Regions from separate parts of the Homo sapiens genome. Here regions 1, 2, 4 and 5 are each linked to region 3. Evidence: promoter capture Hi-C in 16 types of primary human blood cells and fetal thymus (Javierre and others, 2016). All regions are on one chromosome and are shown on one strand. Each heading gives the region's core, a stretch centred on a gene start or on the middle of the fragment in contact. The rest is flanking DNA. Distances are from core to core; before and after follow the strand shown. Region 1 overlaps SLC30A4 (solute carrier family 30 member 4). Region 2 has its middle 4.6 kb from the start of SLC30A4. Region 3 holds the start of COXFA4L3 (cytochrome c oxidase associated subunit FA4L3). Region 4 has its middle 49 kb from the start of SLC28A2-AS1. Region 5 has its middle 19 kb from the start of SNORA41B.

Region 1 (2,700 bases), core at 145-2,644, 75 kb after region 3:
TATGTATATATGCCTAAAAGCTACATATAAACCTTGAATTCATTTAAAATTATTTCCAAAGAATAAATGAAGGCTGCTTTTGAAGTGCCAGGCATTTTTCTAATTACTTTACAAATATTAACTCATTTAATATTTGTAATAACTCTATTATAAAGTAGGCACTACTATTAGTTTCCTTTTACAAATAGAAAATGGAGGCACAAAGATGTTAGGTAACTTGCCCAAGGTCAAACTGGTAGGAAGTTAGGGAGCCAGAGCTTGAGCCAAACTATTGGTCTCAGGGTCTGTTCTCTTGACAACTTCTCTTTGTTGCCTCTCATGGGTCCTTGTAAATACCAATCAAAAGTCTACAATCAACCGGGTATGGTGGCTCACGCCTGTAATCCCAGCACTTTGGGAGGCTGCGGTGGGAGGATCACATGAGGTCGGGAGTTCGAGACTAGCCTGGCCAACGTGGTGAAACCCCATCTCTACTAAAAATACAAAAATCAGCTGGGAATGGTGGCACACGTCTATAATCCCAGCTACTTGGGAAGCTAAGGCAGAAGAATCGCTTGAATCCGGGAGGTGGAGGTTGCAATGAGCCAAGATTGCGCCATTGCACTCCAGCGTGGGCAACAAGAGCAAAACTCCATCTCAAAAATTAAAAAAAAAAAAAAAAAGAAAGAAAAGAAAAAAAAAGGCTACAATCAATAGTCCATAAATAAATATAAACCAATCTAAAGCCTACAGAGAATGTGATCTTTTAAAGCAGAAACACATCCATATAACAACTAAAATGGCAATTACAGCTAAGCTATGGTTTGATATTTACTATTGTCAGATAGAGTGTAAAATTTCATTCTTCAGTGTAGAAGAAATTCCCAGGAAATCTAATTTTCTGCTTCCTCATGCAGAATCCCAAGACAATATCCTGTTTTCAATTTTTATTCAAAAGGAGCAAGGGAATATTACTTCTATCTGAATAGTTAAGTGGTTGTTCTCCTCCTTTAAGCTCTGACATTTTCAAACCAGAAGCTTCTATGTACTGTTATAAAGTGATCTGGAGGTGGAACTCTATATAGAATCACTGCCTCCAGGTCTAGAGTTGAGTATACAGTATACTGCCTATTGCATAAAAAAGGGTGGTGAGAAGCAGGATATGAACATATATATGTATTTGCTTATGTTTTCAAAAGGAAGTGCTGGAAGGATAGGCTAGAAACCAATTAAAAGGGTCTACTCTTATGGAATGGTATGGGGAGATGGAGTGGAGGGGAATGAAAGCAAGACTTCTCTGTGTTTTCTTTTAAAAAATAATTTTTGGCCAGGCATGATGGCTTATCTCTGTAATCCCAGCACTTTGGGAGGCCGAGGCGGGTGGATCACTTGATCTCAAGAGTTCAAAACCAGCCTGGGAAACAGGCTGCAGAGTTTGCAACCAGCCTGGGAAACAAAGCCTCGTCTCTACAAAAAATACAAAAGTTAGCCAGGCATGGTGGTGCATGCCTGTGGTCCCAGTCCCAGTCCCAGCTACTCGAGAGGCTGAGGTGGGAGGATTGCTTGAGCCTAGGAGGTCAAGGATGCAGGGGGCTGAGATCACGCCACTGCACTCCAGCCTGGACAACGGAGTGAGACCCACTCTCAAATAAATAAATTAATAAAATAAAATTTGACTTTTGCAACATGTTTTGCATATTTACAAAATAAATCAACAGAGAAAAAACCCATCCCTGTCCCACCCCACCATGTCATCAAAACAAAACAAAATTCAACAAGAATGGTAACAAACCAAGCTTCTTGTGGGGATTCCCTCTGTGAAGTTTTCAGGACCTGAATCTCCAAGTCTGGAATTAGAGATCACAAGAGCTACCCTACTTAAGTGTGTCCAAATGTAAATATATCTCTCCCCATAGAACTTCAAGAGATTACTCTGAAGCAATGGTACTGTGGAACTCAGGGACACCAACTGCTTTGGTTTACAGCTTTATTCATCAAATTCTATGTATCTTTGAATCTTCCTCAAGCAAACTAAGTTTTTTCTTCCAAATTTCCACCATTATTTCATAGAGCAGAATAAGTGAAATAAGGTCTATATCTAGATATCCCCTCATAATATTTCAGAATACAAAACAACAAAAAAAAGAAGATCCCAAAAGTTTCAGTGTGAAGCTTGAGTACCTTCTTAGCTCAGGAAATACCTATCTATCTATATCTTTAACAATTCCCTCCCTTTCATTTTTTTAGATGACTTTTAAAAATTGACATAAAATTCATGTAACAAAATTCACCATTTTAAAGTGTACAATTCAGTGGTTTTCAGTACATGTACAAGGTTGTGCAGCCATCATCACTACTAATTCCAGAACATGTTCAACACCTCAAAAAGAAATACCATATGCATTAAGTGGTTACTTCTTTTTATTTTTTAAGTTCTATTTTTCTGAGGTTCTTAATAGTAAGGCTTGGCTGGGGGCGGTGGCTCATGCCTATAAACCCAGCACTTTGGGAGGCCGAGGCGGGTGGATCACGAGGACGGGAGATCCAGATCATCCTGGCCAACATGGTGAAATCCCGTCTCTACTAAAAATACAAAAATTAGCCATGAGTGGCGGCGGGCCCCTGTAATCCCAGCTACTCTGGAGGCTGAGGCAGGAGAATCACTTGAACCTGGGAAGTGGAGGTTGCAGTAAGCCGAGACCGCGCCATTGCACTCCAGCC
Region 2 (2,700 bases), core at 59-2,558, 97 kb after region 3:
TAGCTTTCAGCCTATCTCAGCTTTCTTTCTTTTTTCTTTCCTTCCTTCCCTTCCCTCCCTTCCCTTCCCCCCTCCTTTCCCCTTCCTTCCTTCCCCTTCCCCCCTCCTTTCCCCTTCCTTCCTTCCCCTTCCCCCCTCCTTTCCCCTTCCTTCCTTCCCCTTCCCTCCTCCTTTCCCCTTCCTTCCTTCCTTGCCTGCCTCCCTCCCTCCTTCCTTCCTTCCTTTCTTCCTTCCTTCTTTTCGTCCTTCCTTCCTTCTTTCCTTTTTTTGGAGTGCACAGGCACAATCATGGCTCACTGAAACCTCTACTGCTCAGGCTCAGGCAATTCTCCCACCTCAGCCTCCCAGAGTGTTAGGATTATAGGCGTGAGCCACCATGCCCATCCTTATCTCAGCTTTCCATATGCCTTTCTCACTATGGTTAATAATTTCTAGCTTTTGATTTAAAGTGAGAGATATACAACTCTTCCTTTCACTTAAACACTTAGAGGTCATTGTAGGGTTATTAACTGGCCCAATTTTAATATTGTGTCTCGTAATAGGGAGGGCCAAGGAGAGGGAGAGTGAAGGGGGACGGCTGGTCAATGGAGCAGTCAAAACATATACAACATTTATCAGTTAAGTTTGTCATCTTATATGGACAAGGTTCGTGATGTCCCCAAATAATTACAATAGTAATATCAAAGATCACTGATCACAGATCAGTATATCAGATATAATAATAATGACAAGGTTTGAAATATTAAGAGAATTACCAAAAGGTGACACAGAGACATGAAGTGAGCCCAGGCTATTGGAAAAATGACGGCGACAGATTTGCTTGACACAGGGTTGCCATAAACCTTCAATTTGCAAAACTGGCAATATCTAACAAGTGCGAGAAAGTGAAGCACAATAAAACAAGGTGTGCCTATAGAGGTGTCCTTTTGGCTATTGGGTCTGTTTCACAAAAAAAACAAAAAACAGCCAGATGCAGTAGCTCATACCTGTAATCTCAACACTTTGGGAAGCCAAGGGGAGAGGATCTCTTGAGGTCAGAAGTTTAAGACCAGCATGGGCAACATATTGAGACCCCGTCTCTCCAAAAAATTTTTTTAAAGCCTCCAAGGAATTGGCGGTTGCAGTGAGCTATGATTGTGCCAGTGTACTCCAGCCTGGGTAATAGAGGGAGACCCCATCTTTAAAAATCAAAACAAAACAAAACCAAAAAAAGAGGAAGAAGAAATAATTGTGGCTTTTTTGTTTTTTGTTTTTTTGAGACAGGGTCTCGTTCTGTTGCCAAGGCTGGAGCGCAGCGGTGCGATCTCGGCTCACTGCAGCCTTGACCTCCTGGGCTTAATCTATCCTCCTGCCTCAGCCTTTTGACTAGCTGGGACCATAGGTGCTTGTCATCATGCCCGGCTAATTTTTGTATTTTTTTCCTTGTAGAGATGGTTTTTTGCCATGTTGCCCAGGCAGGCCTTGAACTCCTGGGCTTAAGTGATCCTCCTGCCTCAACCTCCTGTAAGTGCTGGGATTACAGGTGTGAGCCACCATGCCCAGCCAATATTTAAATTCTGTAGTAGCTTCTGATTTAAACCTAAATTATAATATCACAATGGAATGGCAATATGCACCCCTAGCAAAATCTTACAGTTTTGTTTTTTTTTTTTCTTTGAGACAGGGTCTTGCTCTGTCACTCAGGCTGGAGTGCAGTAGTGTGATCTCGGCTCACTGCAACCTCTGCCTACCTGGTTCAAACAATTCTCATGCCTCAGCCACCCGAGTAACTGTGATTACACACAAGCACCACCATGCCTGGCTAATTTTTCTATTTTTATTGTTATTATTTATTATTATTATTATTTTTTGAGATGGAGTTTTGCTCTTGTTGCCCAGGCTGGAGTGCAGTGGTACGATCTCTGCTCACTGCAATCTCCGCCTCCAGGGTTCAAGCAATTCTCCTGCCTCAGCCTCCTGGGTACCTGAGATTACAGGCACCTGCCACCACCCCCAGTTAATTTTTTGTATTTTTAGTAGAGACTGTGTTTCCTCATATTGGCCAGGCTGGTCTCGAACTCCTGACCTCAGGTGATCCACCTGCCTCGGCCTCCCAACGTGTTGGGATTACAGGCGTGAGCCACCGCGCCCAGCCTAATTGTTCTATTTTTAGTAGAGACGAGGTTTCACTATGTTGGCCAGGCAGATCTCAAACTCCTGGCCTCAAGTGATCCACCCACTTCAGCCTCCCAAAGTGCTGGGATTACAGGCATGAGCTACCACACCTGGCTGTTTTAGAGATTCTTAATCTAGATTTTCTGAGTGGGTTTTAGGGAGTTTGGGAGGCCTTAAACTTATGTGCAAAATTTTGAGGACATGTATATTTTCTGGGATAAGTCTTTTAGCTTTCATCGTATTCTCAAATTGGATTGACTCAAATTAGGTTAAAAACAACAACATTGTCAGGAGAGCTCATCTTAAAGGTCCAGCCCCTAGCTTCTACTTGAGTTGAATTGTAGGGCAAACTCCTATTTATCCAGCGTTTTTTTTTTGAGACCGAGTCTCACTCTGTTGCCCAGGCTGGAGTGCAGTGGCGCGATCTCAGCTCACTGCAAGCTCCGCCTCCTGGGTTCACGCCATTCTCCTGCCTCAGCCTCCCCAGCAGCTGGGACTACAAGCGCACGCCGCCACGCCCAGCTAATTTTTTGTATTTTTAGTAGA
Region 3 (2,700 bases), core at 89-2,588:
TTGAACTTCAAACTGTTTGTTTTAAAATAACTGGTCCTTTACTTATTGCAGTATTTAACAGAGGGGTGCAGACAGAACCATGGTGTTGGGCACCAGACAGACCTGCGTTCTGATGGCATCGCCGCCACTTACCAGTGACGTGACCAGAGCCTCTCTGAGTCTTAATAAGACTTTGCACCCACCTTGCCGAGGGGAATCTGGCTCAGTGTCTGGCACACACACAGCCCCTGGCTCTGTGAAATTGTTACCATTGCAGCCGCCTGCAAACTGCAAAGTGAGGTTGCTGGCTTAGAGGAGAGTTAGGAGGGAACCCAAAGACTAAACCAGCCGGCAGGGTCGTTTGCAGAAAGACCTTCTCCTGACAGCCTCCCCAGCTTATTCTTTTGTTTGTTCTCCCTCGACCTCGGGTTTTTGTTTTATTGTGTTTATTTGTTTGTTTTTGTTTTTTTGGGTTTTTTTTTTAGCAGAAAAAGTCAGGACGCCCTGGGAGTTATTCTGAAATAAACTTTACAATTTAATTTTAATGATCTCCATAGGTGCACAGACCACATTTTGGAGCTTTTAATGTGATTGGATTAATTCTAATTTACCCGCCTGCACCTGGGAGCCTCTCCTGGGACCCTCCGGTCTGCAGCTCATTTTTCCGGACCCCCTTTTATTGTTTATTTGCTTATTTAAATATTTTGTTTTATTCTATTTTATTTAAAACAGGGTCTCGCTCTGTTGCCCAGGCTGGAATACAGTGGTGTAATCTTGGCTCACTGCGACCTCAAAGGCCTGGACTCAAGCGATTCTCCTGCCTCGCCCTCCTCAGTAGCTGGGACTGCAGGCATGCAGCACCACGCCCGCTAATTTTTTTTAGTAGAGACGTGGTTTCGTCACGTTGGCCAGGCTGGACTCGAGTGATCCTCCTGCCTCAGCCTCCCAAAGTGTTGGGATTACAGTCCTAAGCCACCGCGCCAGGCCCGGATACCCTTTTAGAAGGGTTGGCTTTCCCTCAGGCCTCGGCTATCTGCGCTCCCCTCTTAGGGGGTTCCACCTCCTACTCCCCAAACCTCCAAACTCCTCACAAGCACCTAGGGGGGCCAAGAGCGACCGGGGTCGGCAGGTAAGGAAGACCGCGGCGAGCGGCAGGGGGCGCCAGCGCCCGCGTTCGGGCGCTTCACGTCAGCCGCAGAATGTCCTGCAGGGGGCGCCCGGGAGTCGCGTGCCCAACGGGGAAAGCGAGTCAGGTCCCTCGCGCTCCCCGCCCCACGCGCGTGACCAGAGCGCGCTGGCCCGGCCCACCCGGGGCGGTTGTGGTCGCTATATATAAGGTGGGGAGGCCGCCGGCCCGTTCGGTTCCGGGCGTTACCATCGTCCGTGCGCACCGCCCGGCGTCCAGGTGAGTCTCCCATCTGCAGAGACGCGGACGCGCCGGCCCGCAGTTGGCCTGCGGAGCGCGGTGGACGGTTTGGCGCCCACCAGGCGATCAATACTTTGGATTTTTAATTTCTAGATTTGGCAATTCTTCGCTGAAGTCATCATGAGCTTTTTCCAACTCCTGATGAAAAGGAAGGAAGTAAGTTTTAAAAACAATTGAAAATCTTGACTAAAGTTTTCATTTTTAAAGATGAAAAGATGGCACAGATTTTGAACAAAGTATAAAATAAATACAGTTGTTTTGCTGTGTTTCAAATGTTTCATATTGAAGTGTCCAAATGTGTCCCCTCCACCTGTTATTTGTTAGCTCATTCCCTTGGTGGTGTTCATGACTGTGGCGGCGGGTGGAGCCTCATCTTTCGCTGTGTATTCTCTTTGGAAAACCGATGTGATGTAAGTAGGTCTCAATTTATAAAAACGTTTTTGGCAGTGTTTGGATGACTTTTAGTTTATGAAATGTATAAGTTTCCTATTTTTTTCCCATGGATGAGAATGCCAAATTGTGAACTGGGAGTCAGGGTTAAAAAGCATCTTTTATCAGAAAACTCTTATGATATTGTCTACCAATGGGTCAGAAAATGAAAATTAGAAAAAAAAAAGAAAAAATTTAAAAAAACCCATGATATTAATCAAATTAGTTTATTTCTTGTGTTTATTCTTTTACCCATTGGCCCTTCTCCACTCTCTGGCAGTGAAGTAAAGCTTGTTTTTTTTTTTTTAAGTTTTGAAATTTAAAGTTCTTCAGTGGTTTTGGGAGATATATATCATGAAACAATCATTTTAATTAAAATTTTAAATTTTAGCTTATTAGATTTTTACTAATGTGGTAGAATTGATAGATTCAGTTGTCTACGATGAACCTAATCTCAACTTTGGGTAGAAGAAAGTAAAAAACAAAAACATGTATCCTGGAATATGAGGAAAAGATAAACTTGAAACTGTTGGAGGCTGGTGCAGGGCTGGAGAGGGCAGTCCTCTAACCGCTGGCAGAGGAGCCTAGAGCCCTGGAGTTCACCACCTGCAGAGTTCAACCTGCCCCTCCCACAGACTGAGATAAGAACATTATTGCATGTCCTTGGCTTGGCAGTTTCACTCCCATGGTTATTTGGTTTGTGGGATCCTTCCCCAATGCAGCCCAATCAAGAGAATACAGACCTCCTACCCTTTAGGGGAACTGATGTTTAATGTTTGAGCCACACCATGAAACTCCCTTAGAGAATTTTCAATCAATTTTAGTTGCTACTGATGGTTCCTGATCATTAGCAGACACATGCCTTA
Region 4 (2,715 bases), core at 78-2,577, 100 kb before region 3:
AAATCCTTGTCAACCCTGTGGGGATGGCTTCATCAGCCGCTCGATGTGTTTTCCAACTCAGAAGCTCTCTGAAGCCCTTTGTTTAGGGTTTTTATGGAGGTTCTATTACATAGGCGTGATTGCTTAAATCATGGGCCATTGGTGATTTACTCAATCCAGCTTTTCTCTCCCTCCCTCGGGGTGAGTAGGGCTGAAAGTTCCAATCCTCTATAATCACATGTTTGGTTCCTCTGGCAACCAGTGCCCATCCTGAAGCTATCTATGGGCTTCCAGCCACCAGTCATCTAATTAACATAATTCATGTACACTCGAAAAGAGCTTGTTGAAAATAACAAAAGATGCTCCTGTCACCTCGATTGCTCAGAAAATTCAAAGAGTTTTTAGAAGCTCTGCGCCTGGAACCAGGGATAAAAACCAGCGATTTTAACAAAAGACGCTCCTGTCACTCCTATCACTCGGGAAGTTACCAGAATTTTAGAATCTCTGTACCAGAAACTGGGGGCCTGAAGACCCAATATGTATTTCTTACTATATCACAGTATCACAGTCCTTATTAGGTTGCCAGTGGAAAAGATGTAGAAAGTTAACCAAAAGTCAAATTTTCATGTAGGAGAGAAAAGGTTTTGCTAACACTTCACCCACAAGCTTCTTTATCAACAAAGTAACTCATCATTGGAACCTGTATGCTCTATTTATATTTTCAGTATACATTAGTTGGCCAAAATTTAGGTATAAAAGTAGGGATAGCAACAAAAAAAGAAATCATTTCTTCACTTCTTTTTTTTTTTTTTTTTTTTTTGAGATGGAGTCTCACTCTGTTGCCCAGGCTGGGGTGCAGTGGTGCAATCTCGGCTCACTGCAACCTCCGCCTCCTGGGTTCAAGCAATTCTCCTGCCTCAGCCTCCCAAGTAGCTGATTACAGGCATGCACCACCACGCCCGGCTAAGTTTTGTATTTTTAGCAGAGATGGCCATGTTGGCCAGGCTGATCTTGAACTCCTGACCTTGTGATCCGCCTGCCTTGGCCTCCCAAAGTGCAGGGATTACAGGCGTGAGCCACCATGCCTGGCCGAGAAATCACTTCCGTACCAGAGCAGTTTAAATGGATGTGCCTGGCAACCTACTGTAAACCAAAAATAAAACTCTAAGCCCCCTCAACCATCTGAATGGACCCCTCTTCTTGGCCAAGGGCATTCCAAAGTTGACCTGAGAAACTATTCCGGCCATAATGGGAAATGGGTGTTGAACATGCCTCATCCTACCCTCCTCCCTTTTGGAATTACTGATAGAATGGACTCTTTAAGTCTGATAAGAAACATTTACAATCTATTCTCTCTGAAGCCTGCTACCTGGAGGCTTCACCTACATGATAAAGCCTTGGTCTCCACAACCCCTTATCTTAACCCAGATATTTCTTTCTATTGATTCTAAGTCTTTAGACAATAACTAAACTCTTTCAGAGAAATAAAAGACAAAAGAAATAATTCAACAATATTACAAAGAAATGAAGGGCATGAATTCCCAATTTCAAGGGACCCATTGAGAACCCAGCATAACAGGCAAAATAAAGATACACACCAAAGCACATTATTATTAAATTTCAGAACATTGGAGACAGAAAGGACCTAACAGAGAGGAAAATAAAATCACTGGAAAGGATAAAGAATCGGAATGGTATCTGACTTCTCAACAGCGACTCTGGTAGTAGAAGTCAATAAAGAAATGTTTTTTAAAACAAAAATGTTTTTAAGTTCACATTTTATTTAGGTTGAAATAAGCTGTACAAAATTGGTATTTCTGACCAAAAATAACAGCCATATTTTCTATCATATTTATAGATAAACCACAAAACACTTATTGTAGTCAGTTTTTCAGGTTTTGATTTTAATCTAGATAAGGAAGTAGACATAGTTATGAAAAAAGAAGAGAACAGACACATCAGCTGTCTGTATCCAGGGCTTCTGATTCTGTCTTGACCATGAAACTAAAGTGTTCCACATACACCTGATGAAAAGCTTACGACACAGGAAGACATCAGCTCAACAAAGGAATGCAAATAGCAACAAGCAGAAGGAGAACAATGATGCCAGACTCTTCCATTCAAACTTGTTCTTCTAGGATCACTTGATAAAGATCAGACCTACAATGCCACCCTTGTTGGGTGAGCTCACTGCTTCTCTCACTCTCTGGTAATTCCCATAACTGTGCATTAAAGGGTTTTTTTTGTTTTTGTTTTTGTTTTTGTTTTCTTTTGTTTTTGAGACTCTGTCGCCAGGCTGGAGTGCAGTGGTGTGATCTCGGCTCACTGCAACCTCTGCCTCCTGGGTTCAAGCGATTCTCCTGCCTCAGCCTCCCTAGTAGCTGGGACTACAGGCATGTGCCACCACGCCCAGCTAATTTTTGTATTTTTAGCAGAGATGGGGTTTCACCATGTTGGCCAGGATGGTCTCAATCTCTTGACCTTGTGATCGGCCCGCCTCGGCCTCCCAAAGTGCTGGGATTACAGGCGTGAGCCACTGTGCCTGGCCGCGTTAAAGGTTTTTAACAGTATACTTAAAAGTCCTACCAGTGAAAGGTGAGTTGTAAGATTCACTGTGACATTTTATGAAATGTATTCTTTCCTCCTACACCTACCCAAAATTTATTCCTTCAAAGTACTGATAACTAACTTAACTTCAAAGTACTGGATCCACAGTGATACTAAATGCTGTGTCTG
Region 5 (2,700 bases), core at 83-2,582, 130 kb after region 3:
GCTAGCCATTGTTTTGATTAGTTTCCACTGCAAATGAGTTTTAACCTGTTTTACACCATTATATAAAAGGAATCACACAGTGTACACTTTTTAGTGTGGACTTCTTTCTCTCAGCATGTTTTTGAGATTTATCCATTTATGGTGTATATTATAGTTTGTTGCTTTCAGAAGAAATTTTTACCACAAAGATTTTCAAATTTTTCTCAACTTATTTCTTTTTATTTAATTTGTATATGAAAAATTTTAGCCTGTTTTTTACATTTCTCATCTAATTGCAGGTTATTTTCAACTTACAATTATAGGTTTGCCAAGTTTTGGATCTCTAATGTTTTGCTTATTTCTGGTTTTTGTCAAGCCCATGCACTTGACTTCTGCTAGTCCCTTGAAGGCTGTACCAGAGTCAAGGGCCATCTTCTTCCTTTTAAAGCTCACATACATTGCCATCTTTTTATTAGCTGACCTAAGTGTATATTTATCCAAACATCTAATTTATTCCAGCTTTAGATCTTCTTGCATCTGAGTTATTAAAATACACATTTAATTTACAATACCTACTAGTATTTATCAAAAATTTACTGAAATTATTCATGGTATTTGGGGGGAAACACTATCTAAAAAGGACCCATGATTGATTATTTGTTTATTTATTTATTTAGTGCACTTGATTTTGCAGATGAGTCTGGAAGTGTTAGTTGCAAAGATATGCATTTACTTCTCTGGCTACAAAAAAGAATAGAAATGCACAAAGCAGAGCAGTGTGAAGAAGAAGAGGCGATGACCCCTAGACCGACCAAAGCCCGTGCTCCACTGCCCAGTGCCTATGTCCCACCACTGTCGCTGCCACCCTGCCCGAGAGAAAGGCTGAAGGGGATGCTAAAGGAGATAAAACCAAGGTTAAGTAGGAACTGCAGAGAAGATCCACAAGGTTGTCTGCTAAACCTGCTCCTCCAAAGCCACAGCCGAAGCCCAGAAAGGCCTCTGCAAAGAAGAGAGAGAAGGTACCTACAGAGAAGAAGGGAAAAGCTGATGCTGGCAAGGAGGGGAATAACCCTGCAGAAAATGGAGATGCCAAAACAGACTAGGCACAGAAAGCTAAAGGTGCTGGAGATGCCAAGTGAAGTGTGTGCATTTTTGATAACTGTGTACTTCTGGTGACTGTACAGTTTGAAATACTATTTTTTAATCAAGTTTTATAAAAATGCAGATTTTGTTTAGCTTTTTTTTTTTTTTTTAAGCTATGTTAGTACACAGAATACTTCATTGTTGTTTTGGGGAGAAGGGCCATATGTCACTAATAGAAAGCCCCTGAAGCTGGACTGATGTGGGGAAAACACCTTTTCCTTCTGGTTTTGAGAGACTTCCTCTTGGGTCCCAGGAAGAGGGATTCCCTGACTTTGATACACATGGCCACCTTGGTATAAAAGCCTTGTGGTATGGAAAAACAAATTCGTTTTTTATGTCCTCTTCTCTGTTTCTACCTTTCAGAATGGACTTAAATCCCTTAAACCCAGACATCTTCTGGGACCTGACCCCCAATAATTGGTTACCAGTGTGTCAGGCAATCTGGACTTTGCCCTCAAAAGAGCAGTGGTTCCTGTTTCTAGGTTGTGGATCTTCAGATAAATTCTGTCATTTTCCTTTCACTTCCTGAAAGCCAGGGTCGGTTCATGAAAAGCTATGAAACAGCATGCTAAATGTGAAATGTCAACCCTCACTAAACTTTGCCGGTTCAGAGCATCAGATGAAGACTTCATTGGGTTTTACAGTGGCTTTCTGATTTTTGGTAGTCCATTGAAGAAGGGAGTTTGAAAGTTGTTGTATACTGTTAACGATTGTCTGCCCATGTCCTGCCCAAAATACCATGATTCTTTATGGAAATTATCTTTAATAAAGCTGGATACAGTTTGGCTTGGGAAAAAAAAAAGAAATGCACAAAGAAGGCAAAGTGAGCTTGTGCTGTCTGAAGAATAACTTTCAAGCAGTCTGCAGATAGATCCCATTTGAAAGTCAATCCTCCTTTCCCTCACTCCTGCACTGCCAACAACTGAAGTTGCTGAAGAAGAGTGAGTCTGTGGGATAGCCAGTCTCCTCACCTTTTCCACCTTCATTCTTGAATTCTTGGTCTCCTCTGGCTCCTGTCTTTTTTGCCCTTCTTTCCCCCGCCCCCCCAAATAATACCTGCCTTGGGCAAAATTATCGAATCAACTCCCCTACCAGCACTCCTTTTGCTGCCTGATTCTCTTCCTTTATTCCTCCGTGCAAGCCTCCTTATGCTGAACCTCCAACCCTCAGGGTTCAACCAGACAAACAAAACCAGCCAGAAGTATACATTAAGAGAGTTTTTGCACAGAATTGGCTTATGTGATGGTGGCAGCTGGCAAGACACCCTAGAAGAGCAGGCCTGGTCTCTTAGACACCAGCTGAAGCTGTTAACTACAGATAAATTTCTTCTTCTGCAGAGAAGCCTTAGTTCTGCAATTAAAAACTTTCAACTGATTGAATCAGGCCCACTCAGATTATTTAGAATAATCTCTCTTATATAAAGTCAACTGATTATGGATTTAATTCACATCAACAAATTACCTTCATTGAAACACCTTAATTAGTGTTTGATTGAATAACAGGGGACTGTAGTCTAGATAAATTGACACATAAAGCTGACCATCACACTGTATTTCCTACAGGAGTTGGCTTTCACAT

What was found. The method cuts DNA at HindIII sites, captures the fragments that hold promoters and counts their contacts. A CHiCAGO score of 5 or more calls a contact.
Region 1: a contact is called between a fragment that was not itself captured here and the fragment with the promoter of COXFA4L3 in region 3, in 5 of 17 cell types (M2 macrophages, M1 macrophages, monocytes and 2 more). The highest score is 6.8, in M2 macrophages.
Region 2: a fragment that was not itself captured here is called in contact with the fragment with the promoter of COXFA4L3 in region 3 in 5 of 17 cell types (M2 macrophages, total B cells, monocytes and 2 more); the score reaches 6.8 in M2 macrophages.
Region 4: a contact is called between a fragment that was not itself captured here and the fragment with the promoter of COXFA4L3 in region 3, in 1 of 17 cell types (M2 macrophages). The highest score is 5.2, in M2 macrophages.
Region 5: a contact is called between a fragment that was not itself captured here and the fragment with the promoter of COXFA4L3 in region 3, in 2 of 17 cell types (M2 macrophages and monocytes). The highest score is 6.3, in M2 macrophages.

The regions. Positions count from the first base shown.
Region 1 is chr15:45,504,594-45,507,293 of GRCh38, forward strand. All of the region lies in intron 3 of SLC30A4 (solute carrier family 30 member 4), which reads right to left. Among named protein-coding and RNA genes, the nearest start is that of SLC30A4, 17 kb to the right of the region's middle. The HindIII fragment of the contact is 758 bases long and covers 1,016-1,773 here.
Region 2 is chr15:45,526,054-45,528,753 of GRCh38, forward strand. It overlaps the pseudogene HMGN2P46. Among named protein-coding and RNA genes, the nearest start is that of SLC30A4, 4.6 kb to the left of the region's middle. The HindIII fragment of the contact is 4,217 bases long and covers 1-2,700 here.
Region 3 is chr15:45,429,272-45,431,971 of GRCh38, forward strand. COXFA4L3 (cytochrome c oxidase associated subunit FA4L3) reads left to right here and starts at 1,339. Exons shown (of 5, transcript NM_197955.3): 1 at 1,339-1,384; 2 at 1,499-1,561; 3 at 1,730-1,815. The coding sequence starts at 1,526. RefSeq lists a silencer at 1,282-1,361. The HindIII fragment of the contact is 4,531 bases long and covers 1-2,122 here.
Region 4 is chr15:45,326,769-45,329,483 of GRCh38, forward strand. No RefSeq gene overlaps it. Among named protein-coding and RNA genes, the nearest start is that of SLC28A2-AS1, 49 kb to the left of the region's middle. RefSeq lists an enhancer at 1-424. The HindIII fragment of the contact is 1,369 bases long and covers 644-2,012 here.
Region 5 is chr15:45,554,817-45,557,516 of GRCh38, forward strand. It overlaps the pseudogene HMGN2P46. Among named protein-coding and RNA genes, the nearest start is that of SNORA41B, 19 kb to the left of the region's middle. The HindIII fragment of the contact is 4,930 bases long and covers 1-2,700 here.